Linked DNA regions of Homo sapiens: region 1 is linked to region 2. Evidence: promoter capture Hi-C in 16 types of primary human blood cells and fetal thymus (Javierre and others, 2016). All regions are on one chromosome and are shown on one strand. Each heading gives the region's core, a stretch centred on a gene start or on the middle of the fragment in contact. The rest is flanking DNA. Distances are from core to core; before and after follow the strand shown. Region 1 overlaps MAP3K5 (mitogen-activated protein kinase kinase kinase 5). Region 2 holds the start of MAP3K5-AS1 (MAP3K5 antisense RNA 1).

Region 1 (6,496 bases), core at 3,763-6,262, 120 kb before region 2:
GGAGTAAAGTCACACTCAGAACCCAGCTAAAGGCTGGGCCCAGTGGCTCACACCCATAATCCCAGCACTCTGGGAGGCCGAGGAGGGCGGATCACCTGAGGTCACGGGTTTGAGACCAGCCTGGCCAAAATGGCGAAACCCCATCTCTACTAAAAATACAAAAATGAGCTGGGTGTGGTGGCACGCGCCTGTAATCCCAGCTACTCGGGAGGCTGAAGTAGGAGAATCGCTTGAACCCAGGAGGTGGAGGTTGCAGTGAGCCAAGATCACGCCATTGCACTCCAGCCTGGAAGACAGAGCGAGACTCCATCTTAAAAACAAACAAACAAAAAAACCCAGCTGAAATGGCAGATATGACCCACCTTCCCACCCAGCTCCCAACCTTCCTCCTCAGGAAGAGCTGGGCTCTCTGACTGTGTTGTTTCCTCGGCACCATCCCTGTTTCTAATACAGCCCTTATTGATTTGAAAGGTAGGTGGTGTGCTTAAAAGTCTCCTCCCCCACTAACTGTAAGTCCCTAAGAACAGGGACTATGACTTGATCATCTCTGTAGTGCCAGGGCCTAGAACCTTGCCTGGGACAGGGTAGATGCTAACTCATTGTGGAGTGCATGAATGAATGAGGGAGAGAGGGAACGGGAGAAGGAGGGATGGAAGTAGGAATGAAGGGAGGCAGAGAACCAATGTAAAAATTTTTTTTGAACTCTGAAGCACACTGAGAAAAAGGCTCTAGAATGAAAAGTAAATTAAGATGACTTAAAAAATAATACCAGAGATGTTTCTATAAATTTAACTAGAATCCAACTGATTACTGTGGTCACTGGGATTCTATCAAGCCATAAATCAAACTGAAAGTTCACCTATGTCTCAAGGGTGGCAACCTTCCGAAAGTAGGAGTGGCTTGGCTTCGTTCTTTTAAGTTCATGTGTTTTCGATATTTTACATGTTTGGTGGCTTCGATTACAAGAATGCAAGCCTAAATCTACTTTCTGTATAACCACATCCCTTTAGCAGCCTGCATTAGCAAATCATACTCTGGGCCAGAAAAAGAGAAGCATACCAATATGCTTTCTTCCTCTTAAGCAGTCTTCACAGTTTTTCTAGGCTGAGGTCACATCTTTAAACTTCATAAAACATTACTGCCTGATTGTTGAGTGGGATGGGAAGGGAGCGTTTAATTCAGCACCTGCAAGCTGCAACTGCCAGCAGATTTCTGCATTCAGAGGCATTTTGGTGTTTGTGTATGCATAGGACAGAAGGAAGAAATAAGCAGGCCTTTATCAGTATGTTCTTTTCTAAAGATCATTACTAGATTTGACCAAAGTTCTCATAACTATATTTAACAGTCTATCAGTGCTTTCTTGAGTGTTTCCTTAATGCTAGTAAATTCTAACTCTCACAAATTCCCATGGGCTACAGCAGTGCCATCTGGAATTTAGTTCCTTTTACTAATCTGTGATTTAAACATCAGAAAGATATTGCCATAATTCCCAAATAAACACTTAACATGTGTGGGAAGGTTCAGGATAATGGGCCTTCTGATGACCTAATAAAAAATGAAGGTGGTAAAATCATAAGCCAAAAAAAAAAAAAGCAGCCAGAGCCCACAGAGAAGCAGAGATTATCAGCAGATTTGTGCAGAGAAATCTGCATTAGAGCAAAAGAATGCTACTCGGGGATGAAGTGGTGAAAAAGTGGGGAAAAAAACAACTCACTGGGGTTATAAGTCATGAGAAAATTTGACCTCAGAAGGGTCCCAAAAGAGAGGAACGTATTCTCTGGTTAGTCATTCTGATGAGCTGAGTTGAAAAGTTATTTCAGAAAAAATTTCTGAAGAAACTCAGAACTTTTGACATCCCGAAATACTAAGTAGGAATATTTGTGGAAATTTTTGCATTTTGTAGTTGATCCTTAGGAGCAGGAGACAATTGTGTAAACACACTGCAGGACTAGGACTCAGGATGACTTTCTTTAGAAGGAGGAAGAAGATGAAATGTGTGAGAATGACAGGATTTTCACAAGTTTAAGACCTTTCTCCAATTGAAACGAAAGATAAATTAGGGGAAAAGGCTGAAGTTTTTCATCTAGATTCAGAAATGCTTTCAAAAAGCAACACATTCTAAATCTATCTAAAGATGCCACATGATCTTGTCGAAACGGTAATTTGACAAATTATTTTTAACAACAAAAATACTCAAGTGCTACATGAACAATTCACCCCTTCATCGTTGAAGAGAACTGCTGGTTCTCAGCAGTCCTGCAAAACACCTCACTGGCATGAGAAGAGGTATTTATGGTCTTTTAGAGATCTGCAGGAAATGTTTTTGAACTAATCTGTATTAACTACTGAAAAACTGGCAGGACAAGGCTGGGTGCGGTGGCTCACGCTTGTAATCCCAGCACTTTGGGAGGCCGAGGCAGGCAGATCACTTGAGGCCAGGAGTTCGAGACCAGCCTGGCCAAGATGGCGAAACCCTGTGTCTACTAAAAATACAAAAATTAGCCAGGCGTGCTCGTGCACGCCTGTAATCCCAGCTATTCAAGAGGCTGGAGCAGGAGAATTGCTCGAACCTAGGAGGCGGAGGTTACAATGAGCCGAGATCATGCCACTGCACTCCAGCCTGGGTGACAGAACGAGACTCCATCTTAAAAAAATAACAAAACTGGAAGGACAGAAGGCCAATGGGGTGTGGAGAGAGGATGACCACACCTTGTCTCTAATTTCTGCTTTGATGAGTACCTTGGGCAAGGGCATTTGGATAATGACTGGTTGTTTGCGGGTTTATATGTTGGAGGAGGAGGAATTTGAAAGCAGCATCAGTAGGTGGTTTACCGATATAGCTGCTCACCGTGAGCATTAAATACTGGGTGGATGAGTGTTGCAAAGCACAGCCTGCCCCAGGTTCCTCCATATGCTTCCTTCCTCCCTGGCTGCTGACTTCCAGCCTTATTCATCCTGGCCCTCAGTCTTTCAGTCGACGTCCATGTGGGCTTATAGACATCAGATGAATTAGACTTGCCCCCTGCCTGAAAGTTCACATTCTATTGGACAAGACTGATTAAAAAAATGACAGATTTTAAGTTCGTGGTAATTGCAAACTAGATATGGTGCTGTGGGTGTCAGGAAATCTCGTAGGAGGCAATGTTTGAGCCCTCCCTTTTGAGAGATGAATGAGCATTCCCTAGGTGCTGATGAGCATTTCATTTTGAAGGAGGTTATCTGGCCGTGGGTGTGACAGTGGTCCTGAGATATTGGAGTCATATTAGACAGCAAAACCGGCCAACAGAGTATCACGGAGGCATTGTATTTTCACTGGCGACCTTCACGCACCCTAATGGAGCCCTCATAATTCCTTTTTTTTTTTTTTTTTGATACAGAGTTTCGCTCTGTTGCCCAGGCTGGAGTGCAGTAGCATGATCTTGGCTCACTGCAACCTCTGCCTCTCAGGTTCAAGCGATTCTCCTACCTCAGCCTCCTGAGTAGCTGGGATTAGAGGCGCGTGCCACCATACCCGGCTAATTTGTGTATTTTTAGTAGAGATGGGGTTTCACCATGTTGGCCAGGCTGGTCTCGAACTCCTGACCTCAAGTGATCTGCCAGCACCCCTGACATTTTCTTCTCCAGGTGACAACAGCTTTGGCCTCTCAAAGTACTGGGATTATAGGCATGAGCCACTGTGCCCGGCCAGTCCTAATAATTAAGGCAATTTGACTATAAGTTTTGAGCATATTATATAATTTTCTTTCTTGTTCCAGTTTTATTTCTTAACTAAAATCAGGAATTTATCTATAACTGTATCTGAAAGATGCTGAGTAAAACAACAGCCACTGGCTGATTTTCTTCTCCTTAATTATACAAAATGAATTGCCTATGCAGTTATCCAAGAGCCTTAGTCAGTGTTAATCTAGTTAAAGCTACCTAGTTAAAGCTGTTTTACAATATTTTACACTCATTTCTTAGAAGTTATTCTCTTACCTTTGACCACAATTTCTACAAAACATGTACTTCAACTTTTAACTTCTAAAAACTTGCCTTCAAGTTTTAATTCTTTATTTCTAAGGTATCTTATTGTACCATGCCAGGTGTTAAATTCTGTAATTTAATTGCATCTTTATTCTTCAAGAAACTAATCTTATAGTCTTTTGTATATTTTCTCAGGTTTTATTTGCCCTGTGTCTTGTCTTTGCATATGTTTTGCGAAGAACACTCCCCCATATTTTTAGAACAATTTTCTTCATTTTTTTTCCTGAACAAATACATATTTGTGTGAGCATACATATATAGACATTTTGGGGGATTTTAACCCATTTATGACTGAGGTTGCAATTTTTTGAATTTTTGCAATCAGACCTTGGTGATGACCTTGAGCAGTAGGATATAAATAACTCCTACATGCTTGGTGTTCCAATAATGGAACACTAGGTATAAATTAATACGGTTCAAATGTGGCTGTGTAGTGATAAATATTGACATTTTTCCAAGTGCCTTCTTTATCTGAATACATTTGAGAAGCTTGTCAACCAAGATAATCCACACCTGATTCAGAAAAGTGGGATTAAGTCCACTGACTAAGGATGTGAAATGGATAATATTGTATACTCTATGCCTACATGGACACATTCACAGCTCTACAGATGACTCAAGGAATACTGCTTTATTTAGGATTTCTCACTTTGGGGCAGAAAATGGAAATTTTGTTTTTTTTTAGAGATCATTTTGAAATCCATCTCTTAGATCATGGTAATAAATAATGGCCTCCAAAGAACCACCATATATCTGATAGACCTAGGTTCTTAAATACAGCAATATTTTCCCTGTTGGCTAAAGTTGGCTTCATTGTATGCTGAAAGCATTCCTTTTTACCCTGTTTATGGATTTACAATATGGCCGCTGCTTGGAGATCACTTGACAATAGTCTACACCCTTGCTACTCAAAATGTGGTCCCTACACAGCAGCATGGGCATCAACTGGGTGCTTATGAGAAAGGTAATCATCACCCCAATGTCACACAGCTCAATCAGAATCTCTTTTTTGACACAATATCCTGGTGATTCATGTACACATTAAATTTGAGAACACTAGTCTGAACTCACAATTTTTGCCTCATAACCTCCCACTTATTCTTCAATCCATTGTTTTTAATCTGCCAGTCTTGCAAAAGACACTCATGACCTGTTAATAGCTAAACATGCACCAGGCTTCTCAGCCTTTGCTGTACATTTCCAGCATATACTATTGTGGTGGGTTTTCGGTTCTGTTGGTTCCTTTTAGAGTTATAGTTTGTTTCGCCCCAGAAAATTCTTTTAATGGGCATTGGCTCCCTGTACATTCTTTGGCCAGAGTGTATCTAGACAGCACCCGTACTAACAGGACTAGAAGCCCTGCTGCCCTATGAAGGGACCAGAGATGTTGTAACCTGGATAAGAAAATGTCATGGATGCCAGGATTACTGTTCTTAAGTGTCTGAAGGTTTCTGGAAGAGAAGGAATTTGAGTTTTTCAGTGAAGCTTTAGGAAAGCAGAAAATAGAAGCAATGGGCCAGACATGGCAACTCATGCCTGTAATCCCAGCACTTTGGGAGGCCAATAAGACCAGGAGTTCAAAACCAGCCTGGGCAATGTAGCAAGACCCTGCCTCTACAAAGATTTAAAAATTAGCTAGACATGGTGGCGCGTGCTTATAATCCCAGCTACTGGGGAGGCTGAAGTGGGAGGATCCCTTGAGTCCAGGAGTTTGAGGCTGCAGTGAGTTATGATTGAGAGAGCAAGACCCTGTCTCTCAAAAAAACGAAAGAAAATTGAAGCAGTGAATCAGTAGAAGTTAGAGACAGATTTTGCATTTGTATAAAAAATACATTTTTAAAGAATTTGAATATTCTAACAAGAAGTGTAATTCTTTCAACTGTATGTAGCAAACTGACCATTCTTAGAGCACAGACGGTGTTCAAACCAAGGCCACCAGAGGTACTGAAGAGTAGGGGTCAGAAAGAGGACTGGGGGATTTCCCCTAATTTTTCTCACTAATCCTTATTGCTTTTTTATTGCAAAAAGGAAAGAATATTGTTATGCATACTCAAATTGTTTTTTTTCCCCTGTTAAACCATGATTATACATAGATTTTGTCTCCCTCTCTCGTGGGTATTAGAACCCTGCATGGTTTTCTCTGTGTGGTGGGGCCATAGCTTTCTTCTAGGATAGTTATTAAAATGCATACCACTTTCAATTGTGTATCCGGCATTCTTTCCGTGATGTTCAGTGCCTCGCTAGTCATTTTCATTTAAAGAGACCCAAATACTTCCATAGAACAGTACATAGAAATTCCTGGGTCAATAATTAAGTTGTAACTAATAGCTCATAGTCAGACATCATGTTATTACAGGTAAGATTATCTTCCACCTGTATCGTTTTTCACAGACCTACAGACATGAACGTATTTGTATTTTCCTGCCCCCCCCTCAAAATTTTATGAAATTTATTTCATTTGAGTCCTTTATGT
Region 2 (5,804 bases), core at 2,544-5,043:
ATGAACTCATATCTCAAGTATTTTAATATGTTATTATTATAATACTTTTATATTGAAATCATCAAACAATTGATCAGAGTTAACCAGCCTTGGTCTCCATTGTTCTTCTTCCTGCCTTCCATGTCTTCATTAAAAGTAAAGGCATCCAGCAACCCAAGCCAGATTCCTGAGAAACCCCTCCCAAACCCGTCTTAATCCCTCATGCCCGTTCTTTCCTGCAGCCCCTTCATTTCATCTTCTTGGTCACTCCCCTGATCTCAGGTCTTCATCCTCTATCATAGCCTAACATGTCTCATGCTTTGTCTCTGTTATCATCAGAGAAATCTCTCATACAGATTTAATCCTGCGACTCCCCAGATTAAAAACCTTTGATGCTCCTTTTTGTTTTTTGATACAGAGTCTCACTCTGTCACCCAGGTGGGAGAGCAGTGGCGCAATCTCGGCTCACTGCAACCTCCGCCTCCTAGGTTCAAGCAATTCTCCTGCCTCAGCCTCCTAAGTAGCTGGGACTACAGGCATGCACCACCATGCCCAGCTAATTTTTATATTTTTAGTATGGAGTTTCACCATGTTGGCCAGGCTGGCTTTGAATTCCTGACCTCAAGTGATCTGCCTGCCTTGGCCTCCCAAAATGCTGGGATTACGGACACGAGCCACCATGCCCAGCTGATGCTCCTTTTTGTAGAAGGAAGTATTTGCACCATACAACATTCTCACCCCCTCTGGCTGTAGCTTCCCCTTTCCTTTCCACTCTGTGGTCCAGCGGTGCCAGCCTCCTTTCCACTTTCCAGGTGGCCATGCTTCTCCGGCCTCTGGGCTTGACATGCAGACGCCCAACCTCACAAACTTTTCTCCTCAGTCCCACTTAGTGACCAAAGCCTTAATTTTTCAGATCCAGGTCCTGTGTCCTTTTCTCTTTGAATCATTTCTCAACTCCCCTTCTTGCTTTTCTCTGTTCTCTTAGCATTTTGGCCCACTCCTCTGGCCTAGCTCTTCTCCATGCATTGTAATCTGGTAGCCTGCACTGGACTGGACTGTTAATGTCCCATGGCAGGATGGTGGCTTTTTGCCCTTTTTAATCACATGAGCTCACATGGTGCCAGGTGTCCAAGTAAAAGAGATTCAATCTGAAGGGTTTGAAGCTGGGCAGTGACAAAATCAGAGTTGTTTTAATATTAGGTTGTAGCAATAATGGCAAAAACCACAATTACTTTTGCACCAACCTAATATCTCAAACTGGGAGGAGAGAGATATGGATGGGAGAAGGCCTCCAATCCATATGGACCTCTCTGCTTGAGCCCGAGAGGTCAAGGCTGCAGTGAGCTAGGATTGCGCCACTGCACTCCAGCCTTGGTGACAGAGCCAGACCCTGTCTAAAAAAAAAAAAGAAAAAAAAAAGTGACATTATTTTCATTTGACTCAAATATCTGCAGGAAGATGGAAGACCTTACTGTTTTCTTTTCTGATGATTGGCCTCATATACCTTAGTAATTATGGTTCAGAATTTATTTTAGTCAGTTTGGAATCATCATGTAGCAAACTCTTTTTTAACATCCTATTTCTATTTTTGTGCAGATATGAAGCTGAATACCCACAGTTACTTCCCTGCCTGAGAAAATACATCACTTATAGTGTTGTATGATATGAGTATCAATTTGTTATTCATTCATTCATTCTGTTGGGAACGGGGAAAAGCCTTTTTCTTGTACCAGCTTATGTTCAATGGTCAGGGGCCTGCAAATTAACTGACAAAAGACAAGTTGACAGGAGAGCAGACAAACTTTATTCTTTTGTTTTGTTTTATTTTTGAAACAGAATCTCCCTCTGTCCCCCAGGCTGGAGTGCAGTGGTGTGATCTCGGCTCATTGCAGCCTCTATCTCTTGGGCTCAAGCGATCCTCCCACCTCAGCCTTCTGAGTAGCTGGGACTAAGGTGTGCACCACCATGCCTGACTAATTTTTGTGCTTTTTATAGAGACAGGGTTTCACCATGTTGCCTAAGCTGCTGCCTTGGCCTCCCAAAATGCAGAGATTACAGATGTGAGCCACCATGCCTAGCCAAAATTTATTCATGTAGTCAATGCTAAGTCAATGAAAGAGACTTACACAAAGAATTGGCTCCCTAAACAGCTAGAGTTGAGTGTTTATATATCATCTTAGTAAGAAAGAGGGTTAAGACTTTAAGAAAGTGTATGGTGGGAGACTAATGAGAAATAAGTGTGAGGAACAGAAAGTTTTGATAAGGTTTTGTTTATGCAACATCTCCTCTAGGTGCAAGTGGTCTATCTCCTCTTTGGTCATTAACCTCCTGGAGAGGAAATAAATGGCAGATGTATTTTAGGAGGCATTGCTTATGTCCGCAAAAGAAATTTAGATAAGGTTTTTTTCTGCTGCTGCTGTTTTTCTGATGTTTTCAGCCTAAAATCATCTTCATCCACATCAGTGGGTCCAAATGGATCTCACTAATGCACTCACATATTTTTGGACAGCTATTGAATGGTAGGCACCATTCCATGTGCTGGAGAGATGGCAGAGAACAAAATGGAGAGAAATTCCTGCTATCACTGAGAGCTTACATGCTCTCATCTAAGTCTTAATCGGGCCCAACTCTGCTTAGCTTCCGAGATCAGAAGAGATTGGACGCATTCAGGGTGGTATAGCTGTAGACTCAGGTTACTTTCTAATGAGAGACGGACAATAAACACAAATAAGTAAAATACCATCTATAGTATGTTAGATGGTGATCAGGGTTAAGGAGAATAATAAACCAGGGAAGGGTTTAGGAAGTTACAGTGTAGCAGGGACGTGCAATTTTAGATAGGAAGGCCTGGGAAGCTCATTAAGAAGGTAAGATTTAGGCCGGGTGTGGTGGCTCATGCCTGTAATCCCAGCACTTTGGGAGGCAGAGGAGTTGGATTGTTTGAGGTCAGGAGTTTGAGACCAACCTGGCTAAAATGGCGAAACCCCATCTCTACTGAAAATACAAAAATTAGCCGGGCATGGTGGCAAGCGCCTGTAATCCCAGCTACTCGGGAGGCTAAAGCAGGAGAATCGCTTGAACCTAGGCACTCCAGCCTGGGCGACAGAGTGAGACTCTAAATAAATAAATAAATAAATAAATAAATAAATAAATAAATAAATGAAGGTGAGATATGGCCGGGCGCCATGGCTCACACCTGTAATCTCAGCACTTTGGGAGACCAAGGCGGGTGGATCATGAGGTCAGGAGATTGAGACCATCCTGGCTAACAAGGTGAAAGCCCATCTCTACTAAAAATACAAAAAATTAGCTGGGTGTGGTGGCGGGCACCTGTAGTCCCAGCTGCTCGGGAGGCTGAGGCAGGAGAATGGCGTGAACCTGGGAGGCGGAGCTTGCAGCGAGCTGAGATTGTGCCACTGCACTCCAGCCTGGGCGACAGAGCGTGACTCCTTCTCAAAAAAAAAGGTGAGATGTGAGTAAAGATCTAAGGGAGGAGAGATCCATCACACTAGATATTTGTACCTGCAGTGTTTTTGGCATTCTATTAATGTTATTAGTAGTTATTAATGTTTTGGCATTTACATATAAAGAAGGCCATACAGACTGAACATTAACAGAGCTGCCATTTGGGTCTTTGAGGTGATTACTCACCTAATGTGATTAAGCCCCCGCCGAAAGTGCATGGTTTTTTCTAAGGTGGTTGTTTCCTTCGAGAGTGCAAGGACTCAGTGAGTCACCACTTCGTTGTTTGGCCTTGTCAATGTTGCCTTCCTACACTGATTCTCTTCCCGCTACCAGTTTTGATTGTTCTGAGCAGACAGCAATAAAGAGATGATTCTAGAAAAATTCTCATGATTGCCTCAGAATGAAATTCTTGTTTCCCTTAGCAACAACCTGATTTGCTAACCTATTACCATAGAAATAGAATGCAAAATATATAAGCAATGTAATGTTACCTTTTATTTTTTAAAACCCTCTCTTCTACTATTCCTGGACATTACATAGATGATTCTCTGTCCTTCTAGGCTGAACCAGTCTCTTGTTTCTTTTCAGCTTTCTTTCAAAACTGCCATTTCAATTTCTATCTTTATCTCGTAAGAATAGAAAGGGGAGATAGAAAAACAAAGCAGCAATTACCCACAGAGATGGTTTTACTTAAATAACACTGCTCTTTTTACAATTCCTTTTCATTTTACTATCACCATTTTGTTTAACAGGAGTCAGCTTCTATATCTAATCTTCTATATCTAATACATAATCTTTTAAATCTGTATCTAATACGTAATCTTTTAAAAAATAGTCTTCTGATGCCTTAGATTCCTAGGGGAAATTAAAACTTTAGCAGCCTCATCAAGGTTTATGTATTCTTCACTCTTCTATATAAGCATACCTGTTGTAGAGCTGGACCTGGTGGTGTGCACCTGAGTCCCAGCTATTTGGGAGGATCACTTGAGCCCAGGACTTTGAGTCCAGCCTGGGTAACATAGCAGGACTCCATCTCTTTAAAAAAAAAAACTGCTGAGTATGATGGCTCCCACCTGTACTCCCAGTGGTTGGGAGGCCGAGGCAGCAGGATCAGTTGAGGCCAGGAGTTCAAGGCCAGCCTGGGCAACATAGCAAGACCCCATCTCTACAAAAAATAGAAAAAATTAGCTGGACATAGTGCTGTACACCTGAAGTCCCAGCTGTTGAGGAGGCTGAAGTGGGAGGATTGCTTGAACCTAGGAGTTCAAGGCTGCAATGAGCTATGATGGCACCACTGCACTCCGGCCTAGGCGACAGAGCAAAACACTCTTTAAAAAAAAAAAAAGATTTAAATATATCTATTGGAAAAATGCTTTCACCCAAGAATAAACCAATAATGACTCTAAATGTTTTGTTTTGGGATCTAGTTCTTTTCTAAAAAAGTTCTCATCACATTTTTCTATAACTTGATTAATTAGTTAAGCAAATAATTACTGAGCATCTACTACAAGCTACATGCTAAAACTGGGGATAGAGTAATTAAGGATGAAGTCCCAAGTCTCGAAGAGCTCAAGTGTCCAGACGAGGATGACAGAGGTAGCCGTAAGATCTTGAAGGGCATTGTCTTGGTCCATCCAGGCCGCTATAACAAAATGCCTTAGGCTGGGTAATTTATACCCAATAGAAATGCTTTGCTCACAGTTCCAGAGGCTGAGAAATCCAAGATCAAGGCACCAGCAGATTCAGTGTCTGGTGAGGGCCTACTTCCTCTAGATGGTACCTTCTGTGGGTGCTCACATGGCTGAAGGCTCAACCAGGCTCCTTCAAGCCTCTTTCATAAGGGGACTAATCCCATTCATGAGAGCTCTAGCCTCATGACCTAATCACCTTCTAAAGGGCCTAACTCTTAATACATTGTGATTCGGTTTCAACATACAGATTTTGAGGGCGCTGAAGAGGGGGGTACGCAAACATTCAGACCATAGCAGGCATTTATGCTGTGCTAAGGAGTTTGGATTTCATCCGGAAAGTAACAAGCTGCCAATAAAATAGATGCAGTGGCACTGACATGGAAAGTTCATGTGGAACTTTGGACTTTGGAAAGTTCACTGTCAATTTAGTGGAGAATAAATTGGGGAATGGAGCAACAAGAGAGGAGAAAAGCCTCTGAACTTTTTTTTTGCAGAGAAGTGCTTTTCTTCTGTGCTACTTCTACAGAGATTCTGAGGCAACTCCGGTGAGAATAAGGAGGTAAAATGGATTTGTGAGATTTTAAGAAGAAAAATCTGAGAACAGTTGGCAATAAATTTGAAATACATAGTAAAAGAAGGAAAAAAACAAAATTCTAAGAGGACAGTGGC

What was found. Contacts are between HindIII fragments. The CHiCAGO score rates a contact against its expected background, and 5 or more counts as called.
Region 1: a contact is called between a fragment that was not itself captured here and the fragment with the promoter of MAP3K5-AS1 in region 2, in 1 of 17 cell types (naive CD8 T cells). The highest score is 5.2, in naive CD8 T cells.

What each region holds. Positions count from the first base shown.
Region 1 is chr6:136,746,247-136,752,742 of GRCh38, reverse strand. All of the region lies in intron 1 of MAP3K5 (mitogen-activated protein kinase kinase kinase 5), which reads left to right. Among named protein-coding and RNA genes, the nearest start is that of MAP3K5-AS2, 35 kb to the left of the region's middle. RefSeq lists an enhancer at 1,016-1,115. The HindIII fragment of the contact is 996 bases long and covers 4,515-5,510 here.
Region 2 is chr6:136,627,103-136,632,906 of GRCh38, reverse strand. It overlaps MAP3K5-AS1 (MAP3K5 antisense RNA 1), which reads right to left and starts at 3,793. Exons shown (of 3, transcript NR_125858.1): 1 at 3,631-3,793. The region is part of intron 14 of MAP3K5 (mitogen-activated protein kinase kinase kinase 5); the gene reads left to right. It also overlaps the pseudogene RNA5SP219. The HindIII fragment of the contact is 14,560 bases long and covers 1-5,804 here.